3 separate regions of the Homo sapiens genome follow, and regions 1 and 2 are each linked to region 3. Evidence: promoter capture Hi-C in 16 types of primary human blood cells and fetal thymus (Javierre and others, 2016). All regions are on one chromosome and are shown on one strand. Each heading gives the region's core, a stretch centred on a gene start or on the middle of the fragment in contact. The rest is flanking DNA. Distances are from core to core; before and after follow the strand shown.

The links. The method cuts DNA at HindIII sites, captures the fragments that hold promoters and counts their contacts. A CHiCAGO score of 5 or more calls a contact.
Region 1: a contact is called between a fragment that was not itself captured here and the fragment with the promoter of MSX1 in region 3, in 1 of 17 cell types (total B cells). The highest score is 7.1, in total B cells.
Region 2: a fragment that was not itself captured here is called in contact with the fragment with the promoter of MSX1 in region 3 in 1 of 17 cell types (total B cells); the score reaches 5.6 in total B cells.

What each region holds. Positions count from the first base shown.
Region 1 is chr4:4,492,359-4,496,565 of GRCh38, reverse strand. The region is part of intron 1 of STX18 (syntaxin 18); the gene reads left to right. Among named protein-coding and RNA genes, the nearest start is that of STX18-IT1, 13 kb to the right of the region's middle. The HindIII fragment of the contact is 4,618 bases long and covers 1-4,207 here.
Region 2 is chr4:4,522,317-4,526,861 of GRCh38, reverse strand. The region is part of intron 1 of STX18 (syntaxin 18); the gene reads left to right. LOC107986254 (a long non-coding RNA gene) reads left to right here. Exons shown (of 2, transcript XR_001741564.2): 2 at 1-394. Among named protein-coding and RNA genes, the nearest start is that of STX18, 17 kb to the left of the region's middle. RefSeq lists an enhancer at 4,539-4,545. The HindIII fragment of the contact is 1,829 bases long and covers 1,831-3,659 here.
Region 3 is chr4:4,857,704-4,861,980 of GRCh38, reverse strand. It overlaps MSX1 (msh homeobox 1), which reads right to left and starts at 2,316. Exons shown (of 2, transcript NM_002448.3): 1 at 1,613-2,316. The coding sequence starts at 2,081. RefSeq lists silencers at 1,725-2,164, 2,175-2,414, 2,435-2,494. The HindIII fragment of the contact is 17,724 bases long and covers 1-4,277 here.

The DNA of each region.
Region 1 (4,207 bases), core at 808-3,307, 370 kb after region 3:
CAGTGGGTGGTGTGGGAGAGTGGATGTTGCATTAGAAAGGGTAGAGACTGCAAAGACAGGGCCACAAGTGAGGAATCCAAGAGCGAGGCTGATGGGGTGAGCGAAAGGGGGTGAATTTAGGAGCCCTTAAAGATGTAGAAGCTGGAGGACTTGATGGCGGGTTGGCTGCAGTGGTTCAGCAGGAGACAGTGATCAGCTGTGAGGTTGTTCTCATAACCAAGACACAGGATCTCACTGGACTGTGTTTGGAGATGGGGGATTATCAAGTTGTGAGAGCCTCAGCGATTTTTGGGTGCCAGTTCATCCTGCTGCCTAGGCCTCTCTGTTACCTTACCACTGGCGTTGCTATTTAAGAAATCAGTGTTCATCTCGCTTATTGGCAGCTTTGGCAAGTCCCTCTGACACTCAGTTTCTTCATTTTTAAATGGAGGATCTTAGATTGTTTGCTTTACCTTTCTCTTGGAAATGTAAAGAATTTATAAAAAGAGAAATCTCATTTTTGAAAGTGTATATGGAAAGTTTAACGTGTCTTAATGAAGGTACATTACTTGAGGAAATATAGTTCAACTATAGGATTAAAAAATTGCGTTATCCGATAATCATAGATGCTCTTATTCACCTTCCCAGTATTTCAAACATGAATAATTTTTAGAGCCTGTAATGTGAATATGGACAGATAGTACCACTGCTCTGCTATTCTATTTTGCATTTTAACTTGTTCCATTTCTTTGCACTAGGATTAAAAACTTGTTTGAGTTTACTCAACAAAATTCATTTGCCTAAAAATGAATTTTATTAGATCATTTTCCTGTTTAAAAATTTGGTCTGGGGGAGGTGCTGGAGGTGGACTAATACAAGATTATCTTTGTTTTTGCGTTTAGTTGTACAATTTAAATATAAAAGAAAGCAAGCCAAGGCAGGAGGATCTCTAGAGGCCAGGAGTTTGAGACCAGCATGGGCAACATAGCAAGACCTCGTCTCTCAAAAAAAAAAAAAAAAAAAGAAAAGAAAAAAAATTAGCCAGACACGCGTGCCTGTAGTCCCAGTTACTTGGGAGGCTGAGGCAGATGGGTTGCTTGAGCCTAGAAGTTTGAGGCTGCATTGAGGTATGATCATGTCACAGCACAGCAGCATGGGTGATGGAGGAAGACCTTGTCTCAGAAAGAAAGAGAGAAAGAGAGAGAGAAGAAAGACAGGAAAGAAAGAAGAAAAGCTGCCATCTTGCGTCCCCATCATTTGTAAGAGAACATTTTAACATTGTTGGCTTACAGAAATCCTTCACTAGACATTTGAGGTCTTCCAATATTAGCCTAGAACTTATATATGCCAGGCACTTTTCTAGGCCCTTTGCATTTCATCCTCACACACACTCTGAGGCATGTACTATATCTTTCCTATTTTACAAGTGAGGAAACTGAGGCAAAGACAGGTTAAGTAAGTTTGGAATGCTGTATAATTCATGAATGTCAGCCTGCATTAGATCCAGGCAGTCTGATTCCAAAGTCCATGCTCAACCTCTTTCCTCTGGCTCCTACATCAGTGGTTCTCAACCCTGATTGTACATTAGAATCATCCAGGGGCCTTATGGAGCAGGGTGGGGAAGGGATAAATAATTTTTACAGGGCCCTACATGAGACCAATCAGATCTTCCCTCTTCTCCTGCTTTCAGGTTAAAAGTCACTCTCTCTCTGTTTTCTAGACCTTTGTAATCTCTTCTTTCCTTGATTTCTTGGCACACGTGGGGCTCCTAATGACCTTTTGCAATTAAGGACACACAGCTTTTTGGTTTAGCTCTGTAAGACAGGCACCATGGAGACAGGGAGATGCTTCCCACCTGTATGTAACCTGCGCAAAGCATTTTACAGGTAACCTGGAGCTTGATTGTTAATTCCTCAGCATGTGATTCAATATATTGTTATTTTTGCATCAGGGGAAGAACAAGGATAGTTAATAAGAGAGATCTAGGATTAAATAGCAACTCTAACATATCTGAGCCACACTGTTCTTACCTATAAAATGGGAGAAGTGATAATATTAGAGGACTTTTGTGAAGATTCAATGAAATATGGAATATGCTCTGTAATGTAGTCATCAGAAATGAATGCTAAATCCATTGCCTTGTAAGTGAAGCACAGCACCGAGACTTGGATATGAAAAATCACTTGAAAGTATGCTGTTCAGTCTTCAGTCAAATGCAAGAAGCCAGGGAATTTGGGGAGCTGGACTAGACCTTAGGGATCAGGGAATGCAGTCTCTTCATTTTATTAGCAAGGATTGAAGCCTGGAGAAGGAACTTGACCAAGGGTACACTGTGAGCCCAAATATATGTACTGTACAATATGTAGTGTACAAATAGTTAATAAATACTTTCTTGGTGCTGTGATCATTATCAGTTTTTACTTCGTAGCATTTGTCTTCTCTATCACTTCAGTGTGCTCATGTATATGTTATGTAACCCTCAAAACAATTTTGTAGGCCTAGCTTACCTGACCCCAGTGTAAGACTTTGAGATAAAATCCTAAAGGATACCACCATGGGATATGGGCTTATGGAGGTACTGAAAAATAACATATATTTACCTTGTTGACTTTTCTTGCATGAGAGGGAAAAGAGTTAAAGACATTCAAACCACATGTGATTGAAAGCCCACGAACCTCTTTCCAGTTCTGTTTTCCCATGAAAATGAGGCTGTTGTATCTTCATAATTTCTTGCATGTATAAGGTTAAAAACAGAGGGGAATGAAGATATTCCAGCTACATTTCTAGTAGAACACCTACATTTTGTTTTTCTAAGCATACTGTAAAAACTTCAAAACAGCATTATGCTTTGCGCTTATTTTAAAACCATTATTAACAATATTTTCTATTGATGCTTTAGTATAGATTTAGACTTCTAGTATCATTGATTATTATAATTTGAATTAAAAGTGAAAATTCATGATAGGTACTGTTTACTTGGAGGACCAATTGCTGTGGAAGTGTGCAGCCTACAATGAAGATAATAAGATGCGTCATTTGAATCAATATTTCTCCCACCTAAACAAAAACAATTTTTTTTAATCATAGAGGAATCATTTTTAGAACTACCAGGTGAATATGCTGTGGTGTCAATTAAATACAGTGGAAACTACCTATTCTTACTATTTACAATTCCTAATCACTTTCTGTCTCTTTCTGCAACTCATTACGTGTACCACGATGTCTTGATTCCCTGAAGTGCCTAGTAAATTTTCTCTTTGTAGGACTATGAAATTAACCATGGGCAGTGGAGGGGGCGGGGGGGTTGGGAATGCCTGTGCCTTTTCCAAAAATTGGGGTTGCTTAGAGAAAATGATAATGTTTAGCATTTTTAGTGGTGCCTAAATGTGTGTAGAGAAACACCTATTTCAGGCCTCTCCAAAGACTTTGATTGTCTGAAAGCAGAAATATTTGCAGTTTGACTTTACTTGGTGTTTACAGTACACTTTCTGAGCACTTTATGGATATTTAATATTGTATGACATGATCAGCAATATCTTTTTTTCCAAATAAGTGGGTTTTTAAAAATATAATGGAATCAGAATGTGAATAACTTTTAAAATTATTTATTATGCAGAGAAAAATCTGAAGCCATGAATTTTAAATCTCATGTAAGTTAAATTTGGAAGTACACAGATTTGCCCAGAATCTGAATTTTATAAGCCTTAAAAACTTTGACATTTTAAAAATATTTGAGGAGTTTGTTATTACCATCTCTTAAATGCACACATTTTTTTCAGACTACTAGGGAAGAGAGTGGCTAAGCAGAGCATTGTTGACTGCCCCAGACATCCTCGACTGGTTTCTAAATCTGAAATAAACTTCTTAGTCATATGGTGATAAGCAGAATTCAGAACATGTCTCTTTTTTAATGCATGTGAAATAGAAAGTGATAGTCATCACAAAATGAAATTTGATTTATGATGTGTTGATGCATCGTCATACTAAGGCACGCTGAAAAATATTTTCAGTTTCCTAATAAAAACAAAGTGACCTCCCCATGAGTGATTCTCCTAATTGTTATTGTCAAATGCTTTTCTTTATGCTTTTTTTCTTGCTCACACTCAGATAATCTACAAACACTGTTTGAATCCTGTGTTTCACTTTCTTTTCTTATGAAAAGTTTTCAGTGAATATAGTCCCTGAGCGAATCCTTTCCAACAAAGTACTTAACTTTCTATGCACACAA
Region 2 (4,545 bases), core at 1,496-3,995, 340 kb after region 3:
AAAAAATACCTTACTTGTTATCTTTGAAGCCTTTTTTTATTTTTTCAATTTTTTTTTTGGAGATAGAGTCTCACTATGTTGCCCAGGCTGACCTCAAACTCTTGGGCTCAAGCGTCCTCCTGCCTCAGCCTTCTGAGTAGCTGGGATTATGCATGTACACCACCATGCCTGGCTTCAGAAGTCTTTTCAAATATTCATTACTTGGTACAGTTCAACCAGTACAAGCATATTTGCTTCTATACTTTCCCGTTGACTCAACTGCGATAAAATCAGCATCTTCCATGGTGCACATGAAGTCGTATATTGGGAGGATTGGTTTTCCTGTTTACATTTTGACGTTTTGTTGTTGTTCCAGCTTGTGTAAATAAAAATTTAGGAATTCGAACTCACCAGAGAGCTCCTCCACCCTGACTGCCATTTTTGCAGTTACATCTGTCATTCTCCCTTTTCCTGTCCTCTATCCAGTTAATTACCAAGCCCAAGAAGATAGACACTGTGTTCCACTCCCCTCACAGCACAGAGCACAGTTCAGTACATAGTATTTGGAAATCAATTAAGTGAATAAGCACCTGCACTTTCTCTCCGTCTCATCCATTCTGCTGCTACCATAGGAGTTCAGACTCCTACCATCTTGTGCCTGAGCTGACACAGTAACGGTGAGCCCTCAGTCCCTCTCCAAGCTAAGCCACTGCACGGAAGATGTTGCTTTCATCATTACTTTGGCTCAGAAGCGCTCAGTACCGCTCATTCTCCACGCAAAGATTCTCAGATATTTGGTCTTTATAAAGCTAGCCTACCCACCTCCAGTGTTAAACCCCACACTTCCCCCATCATCCCACCAGTTTTCACCATGCTGCTCTGTTAGCAGTCCCCTCAGCTTCTTGCCTCCTTCCTTGGCTCCTGCTATTTCTCTTGCCTGGACTGCTTGCTCTCCTTCACTTTCTCAAATTCCATTGATCTTGAAAGGCACATTCTAGCCTATACTAGTCTCCTCTTGAATTGAAAGCATTTGCTGCCTGTATTCTTACTATGGAAATATGTATGGCTTGTGACATCCCTTGCCTTATTATTTTGTGTTTTTATCTAGTAATAACATTGTCACTTAACCTTTCAGCTGCGATTGTGTTATCTCTCAAATGATATTGTTTATTTGTGGGCTTATATTGGGCACAGGGGATGGAAAAGGAGAGAGCAGGACTCTATTTTCATGCTTCTTTGTATTTAGCACAGTGGCTCTTGTACCCAGTAATACAGCCTTTAGACAGAACAGACACCATATCTTCTTGGTCTTTGTATTCCTAGTGCCTTGCAGAGCATCTGGCCCATAGTAGGGATTCATACATGGCATTTGAATAAATGAACAGAAGGCACACCTCAAATATTTGTTTAGTAGTTTTACCCCCAAACTAAATGAATCAACACAGGTAATTTTCCATCTTTTAAAAGCCATAAAAATCCAGTTTTCCATTTAGTTTTTTTCATCATTAACAGTTCTCCCTCAAGCACTTCTCCTTTGCCTGCCTTGAGCTTCATACTGAAATTTAAATCAATTTCCTCTCATTCTTTTCCCTGTGAAATTGGAGAACAGCTGTTTAGTCACCTCCTTATAAATAACCCTTCAACAAGTTAAATTGCCTCTAGGATTTGCTTTCTCCAGATTAAATTATCCCAAAGTCTTTTCTTTTTTCTCATAAAGGCCTTTTCAAAAAGAAACATTGGTTACTTTTAAAATTTCTTTTTCTAGCTCTTTATAAAACTTTATTCTTTTCATAAATGTACCACAGGATACCCCTATGTGGGCCTGACTGATGCTGTCTGGAATGGAAAGCTTTCCTTCCACATCTGGAATCTCATTCTTCTATTTTGTGTTGTACCTTGTTAGCTTCTTTTCTTTTCTTTTCTTTTCTTCGTATCCTATCAAATTTAATTTGCGGTCCACTCTCACCCTCTCCCTGTTTGTCTCCTTTTTCTGTACATTTCTTCAAATGTGTGGCTTGATTTTCTTCCCATAAACACTAACTTGCTTTATCAGAAGTCTTACTAAGGTTATAAGTTACAGAGAATCCAACACAAATTAGCTTAAGTGATCAAAGGAATTTATTGATTTATATCACTGAAAAGTCTAGTGGTATGACTTAACCTCTGGCATGGCTGGACTCGGTGAACCAAACAGTGTCACCACAGGCCTGGTTTTTCTTACTCCCTCTGTTCTGCCTTGCACACACAGTGTTGGCGCCTTTAAGGCGCCTCTAACGCCCTTGCTTTGTGGCAGCCACTGAGCTGCAGCACTTGCAGGCCTCACTTTCTCATAATGCCCCCTCTGGAGGAAGAGAGAGGCTCTTTGCTTGACTGGGTTTCACTTTCTCTTACTGGCTCAAATTGAGTGATATTCTTATCCTCAATCCACTCCTGTTGCCACTAAAAGGATATACTGCCTAGCTTGGTCCATTTAGGACCCAGCTCTGCATCTGATGCAGTATGTTACTTCCACCCAATACATTTGGCTGAGAATCAGGGACGAATTGTTTCCAAAGGAAATTTGGGGAGCTGTTCCCAGAAGGAGGGGAGCAATGCATGGGGGTGGCCAACAAGAGATGTACATTGCATTCAAAATTGTGCCCATTCACTCTGCTTTAGGCATTATAAATACCACTTTGAACTGAAGGTATCTCTGAGAATGAATTATTTATTCACTTACTCATAGTCACTTACTGTTAAGCACCAACTATATGCCAGGCATACAACTAGGTTAGGTATTAGGTGTACAAACGTGAGTGAGACAATGTCTGACTTTGAGAAACACATAATCTAGGGAAAAAAATAGACTTAGAGGCACATAACTAAAGCATGTTCTAATAAGTGCTGCTATCAAAGTGTCTGTGGACACAGGTGGAAGTGAAGAACTCAGTGGGAGGGGTTAAAGGGAGAGGGCATAACAGGAGAGGTGAGTTTTGAGTTAAGCCTTGAAGGGTAAAAAGAGATTCCCCTAGAATGGGAGAGGAATGGCATTATCTCGAAGGCCATGGTGCACTAGAAAAAGTTTTCAGTAGGGGACTAATGTGGTTAGGTATGTATTTGAGAAAGATCATTCTGCTGGCAGTTGGTGGATTCGGCAGAGGTGAGAAGGACTGGCAGCAAGGAGGAGGACCAGTTGAGCTGTTGCAGTAATCAAGTCTAGTCAAGATACAGCAAGGACCTGAACTCAGCTCGTTACTATAGAGCTAGGGAGTAGACTCGATATATTTGAGAAGAGCTGGGACTTGTTCAATGTAGGAGATGTGAATCAGTGGTTATAGATGACTTTGAGGTTTTCATTGTGATAGGTAGGTAGTTAAGATGAGTTCAGGTTTGTAGTTACTTGAGGTGCCTGCTGAACACCCAAGGGACACGTTTCCCAGGCAGTTGTAAATATAGAAATGTACTGGAGGAAAGATTTCTAAGCCAGGAATTTAGACTGGAAAAGACATCAGAATGTAAATGGAGATTGAAGCCTTGAGGAAAGAGTGGGATCACCCAAGGGGAATTTCAAGTCAGAAGAAAAGAGGGCCTCAGAGTAGTCCCTGGGAAAAGACTACATTTGAGAAGCCAGCAGAGAATAAGAAGTCTGAGGAGGCAGCTATGGAGAACGTAGGCCTGTGGATCCCTCCAAGTAATAAGCTTGTTTTTACTTGGATTAGAGGTAATGTCACCTGGAATGATTTGTGCCATGATGGTTAAGAGCATGGACTCTGGGCTCTACCACCTCCTGCAACTGATCTGTGGATAAAATATTTAACCTCATTTCCTCATCTATGTAATGGGAATAAAGTAGTACCTAATTTTGGAGAATTAATTTGAGTAAAGCACCTTGAAAGTGCTTAGCACATAAGAAGTGCTATAGAATGTTTGATAAACACATACGCCAGTAAACACATGTGTTTGTACATTTCTGTCTCTCTGCACTCACATAGCTGCTGGCCAGTTAATCTGAAATCCAAAATTAGTTTATTTGTACTTAAATAATTTGATTTTCTGGAAACTCTGCTAGTTCCAATGCAACAATGCAAGTATCTTGACTTCTTGAAGGTTTTCCAGATTATTTGCTGGATTATTTTTTTCTACTGATGATTAATTTTACCTCTGACTTTGTTATACTTTTCTTTGTTTCTTCCACACTTCACATATTTTTTATTGTTCCTAATACTTTATAGCATACAGCTTTTATTTATTTTTAAAATTTACTTTCTCAGAATTATTCCTAAAGTTCTGGAGTGCTCTGTGAGTTGCTCCTCCACATTTCGGTCAGTTTCTAGTGTGTTACTTTTAATCAGGCTAGTTTTCTCATGCATCTAAAGGAATTGGCAATATTCTCAACTCCTCCCCATTATGGTCAGGGATATGAACTTACTGTCTTCTTCTTTCATTTTCCCAAGTAAATGTCTTGAACCACTGATTAGATCTGTGTGCCCACAATAACATAAGCAGGCACGAAGCTTAAATCTGATTTAAAGGAGAGGGCTGTATAGTCTATTACTCCATTACGTTTTTTTAAGTGTCTAGATTAAA
Region 3 (4,277 bases), core at 1,067-3,566:
TCCTCTGTTGGATCGCGTTCACCCCTGGCGCCAGGGCCCTCTGGCCCCACTCAAACGTTTGTGTGTGTGTGTGTGTGTGTGTGTTGATGTTGTTGCGGGGGGAGTGTTGAGATCGCCTCTCCCCTCAACCTGTGGCATAGTCAGCAGACATCAACATGCCCAGCTGTCTTTTTCTTTTGGCTTCAAAATAAACCTCAAGGGTGGACAGTGAAGAAGCATCAGAGCGCAGGACTAGTGCAGGTCGGGGATGGGGTCTGCTGGGGACTGCCCCCGGATAAAATGTGGAACAAATTATCCCAACACAGCCGGGATCGCTTTGACTTCGGGGTCTTGGGGCCCAAGGCCCTAAGCGTTGGAAAGGACACTTTGCCTATGCAGCAGCTTTCCCGGCAGAAAGTGAATTCAAATCGAAGATGTTTCACCACGCGGGTTTTGCCTAAGTATGCATTTTTTCACACCTCTCTAAAAAACAACCACAAACAAACAGAAAAAACAAAACAAAACAAAGAAAACACAACGATCCTTTGGACTTTCAGACCACCAGGATGTGAGTCAAACGAAATCTCGTGTTAACACCCCGCTTCTTCCCTGCTGGAGGCCACCGGGAGTCCGGGAAGCGCTTGGCCCCCAACTAGCTTTCCGCCGGGCCGCCCGAGGGGCGGGCGCCGAGAGAAACGTCACTCCCTTCAGCGGCGACAACCCAGAGCGGGGCCACCTTCTCCGGCCATTAGGCTTAGGGAGGGACTGGCCTTTCAAAGACGTTTAATCCCCAGATAAAAATCATTCCTCAGCATCACGCCATTGAAATCTGGCTGCTATTATGCCGAGCAAAATAATCGGAGGAAACGAGGAAAACTTGGGAATTTCCCGTGCTCCTGAAATATCTCCGAGCGTGTTCTCTGAGTAGAGCAGCCAGGGGGCCGTGAGGCCTTGGAGCGAACCGCCTTGGGCACCTGGAGTCCACTTTAATGGCTCAGTCCTAGACGTTTGGGAGCTTCCCATAGGATTAGCGGGGGCGCCTTCCCCTAATTGACTTGGTGCCCCGCCCCCTCCACTGGAACCTGAATGTCCCCACCCCTGAATCATCCATCCGCCCAAAGCACCAACTATCTGCCTCAAACTCAAAGGGCATGGGGAGGTAGAATTCTGTAGGAGCTTCGGAACCTCTAGGCAAAGAGGTACTTGAAAGGGAAGAGGGGCTGGGGGACACCAGCTCCTACTGCGAGAAAGTGAAACTCCGGGTGCAGGGAAGATACCGCACCACACACATTCATCCGCTGGGGTGAAGCCGATGAAACAGAGTTTGGGATCAGATGAGGGATCATGGACCCCTGAGGTCGTTTGGTGGGGGCAGGAGGACAGGGTGCCCAGACATCGGTGTCCTATCCGTTAACTCCCACCCGCAGCGTCTCTGGGCCAAGGCGAGGAGGTCTGGAACCTTCTTCCTGGGTGGGAGTGGAGGGAGGCGCAAGACCCGGCCTTGCAGCCCACGGCTCCCTAGCACCGGCTGCAGGTACGCAGGCGCCGGAGGCCACCAGGAGCCCTCGGGTCCCACACCCCACCCGGCCCCCACCCGGCCCCCTCCCTCTGCGCCTGGGTTCTGGCTACTCACTGGCCGGCGGCGGGGAGAAGCGGGGGCTCTGCATCCACGGGGTCCTCTCGGGCTTCTCGGGGCTCTCGGCTTTGACGAGCGCATCTTCTGGCAGCTTGAGGAGTCCCCCCACCGAGAAATGGCCGAGCGGCCGCGGCGAAGAGGGCGCGTCCGGGGCTCCCAGCGACCCCGGCGGGACGCCCAGTGGCTGCGCCGAGCCACCCGCCGCCTGCACGCCCTCGGAGGGCGCCAGGGCGCTCTCCTTGGCCCCCGGCTTCCTGTGGTCGGCCATGAGCGCCTCCACGCTGAAGGGCAGGAGCGAAGGGGACACTTTGGGCTTGGCCCCCTCCTCGTCCGCGCCCATGGCGGCTGCCGTGGCCGCGGCGGCGCTGGGGGCCTGGCCCGCGCCTCCCCCCGCCGGCTTGCCGAAGGCGGAGTCCTCCACTTTGACACCGAGTGGCAAAGAAGTCATGTCAGCAGCCGGGGCCATGCAGAGCCGGGCCCCCCCTTCTGCCGCAGCACTGGCCAGCCGCCGGGCATGGGCTCCGGGCGGGCTGGGAGCGCGGCCGGCCTCTGCGAGCGCCCGGGGCCCTGGCCGGGCGGACCCTCCCGCGCGCGCCTCCCGCCCCTCCCCAGCAGGCCAGCTCCGGCGTGCTGGGCCTGGCCTCCGGTCGCTGCCGCCGCGCAGGCAGAGTTCCCGGGAGCACTCGCCGGCTCCGGGCCCTACCGCGGCTCCCCAGAGAACTTGCTAATAAGGCGAGGCCAGCGGGGCGGCGGCCAATCAGCGCGCGAGGGGGCGGGCCCGGAGCGATCCATTGGGCCGCGCTCCTGGGGACTCGCCCGGAGGCGCGCTGGGCCTGGGGGCACGCAGGGCAGGGCCCAGGCGGCGGAGGGCAGGGGAGGAGAGGGGGTGCCCGGGAAACTTTCCTCTGCGCTGAAGCCCAAGAGGCCCTCTCTGCGGGAGTCCCCTGGGTCTCTATCTTTCTGTGTTCCCGGGGGATTTTCCCTTGTTCTCGTTCCTTCTCTTCTGCCCTCCTCTCCTCCCCTCCCCTCCCCTCCTCAGCCCTCTTTTCCGCTCCTCTTTTTTTCCCCGTCCTTGTTTCTCTCCTCTACTGCTTCTTTTACCTTTCTCTTTAGTCTGTGGCTGGGTTTCCCTGTGCCCCCCTCCACTGTCTGACCCCCCCTCTTCTTCTACCACAATAATTTGAGTTGAGGTTATTTCTTACACATTCCTTTTATATATAGTTTTTAAAATACGCATGGCTATTTATCCTAGGAGAAAGACATACTATTAACTTCTTTTCAAGAAACGAAACAAAACCAAACCTTCATTTTCTTCCTGTTCTGAAATCTTGTAAACTTTACCTCGAGGTAAAAGTGGGCCTTTGTCTCTAACTTAGAGCTGGAGTAAACCTTGCGGGAAGAAGCTAGCTTCCTGTAGTGCCAAGGATGTGAGAATACGTAAGATTATCTAGAATCTGCAGTCGGTTTTCATACACGATGTGTATTCCCCCCCCCCCACCCTCGCTCTGAACTTCTGTCCCAAGGGTCACAACACCTATAGCGCCCGGGCGGGGAAAGGAGCTGCCAGATCCTTTTGATATAGAACTTACTGAAATAAAACCAACAGAATCGTCAATGAAACACCGATCTGGCCTTAAGGTGACCTCAAACAACGCGTCCTCGGAAACAATGACATGTCCCTATCTCTGGGCCGCTGATCCTGGAGGGGAGAGGCACATTTGGGGGAGGGGGCTGGGAAAAGAGGAAAGTTCCTGGAGGTGGACTCTAGTGTGGGACTTGAGAACTCTTCTTTTGCCAATTTCGGAGAAAACGTGATTTAATGTTTGCTGTTAATAATAATAATAATAATAAAGACAGAAAAAATGAGTTGGGGTCAGGGGAGATGCAAGATCTGCCTGAAGCGGGGTCGGGGCTTGGCCATTTTCTGCGCCTGTCGCTTTATGGCCTCTCCTCCTGCGGCCCAGGCCAGCGGCTCTCAGGGAGTGAGCGGAGGTGATTGGCGGCTCACTCGGCCCTGCCATTGATGACTGCGGGGTTCTAATCTCCAGGAAACACAAGGGGCTGCCGTGGCCATTTAGGGGTAATTATCCGAGCGCGGAGGGACAGCGAATTCCCTCGACTTTTAACTGGGCGCAATAAAAGCTGTAGATTAGGGGCGTCCAGATTAGGGAAAATGAATTAGAGCGGGAACTTTATTATCCGGAAGACGTCCGGGGTCTGGCGGCAGGGGTCGGGCTGCGGACGCCGGAGCGATTGGTAGCCTCCCATCTGTCCACAGGCCGCCGAGATATGCTGAGGCCTGGGGAAGTTCGGGAATACCGGCATCTGAATTTTACGCACATCTCCAGGTTTCTAAAGGACCCAAGACTGCAACTCAGGCACTGGGCAGTGGTTGGGGCTTCTAGCTCGAGTTGGGCCGGCTGGACGCGCGGTGCACCGGGGCCTCCGGAGGTTTGCCCGAGAGGGTACAAGGATAGAAGACCTTAAGACCCAATTTTGAAGCTCAGCTCGCTGAGGCTGAGCAAGGCTGTAGGGCAAATACCTTGCTGGTAGCCCAGCCAGGACAGCGAACAACAGCATCTTCCTCTTCTTCCTCTTCTTCTTCTTCTTCCTCTTCCTCTTTTTCTTCCTCTTTTCTCCTCCTCCTCATCCTCCTCTTCCT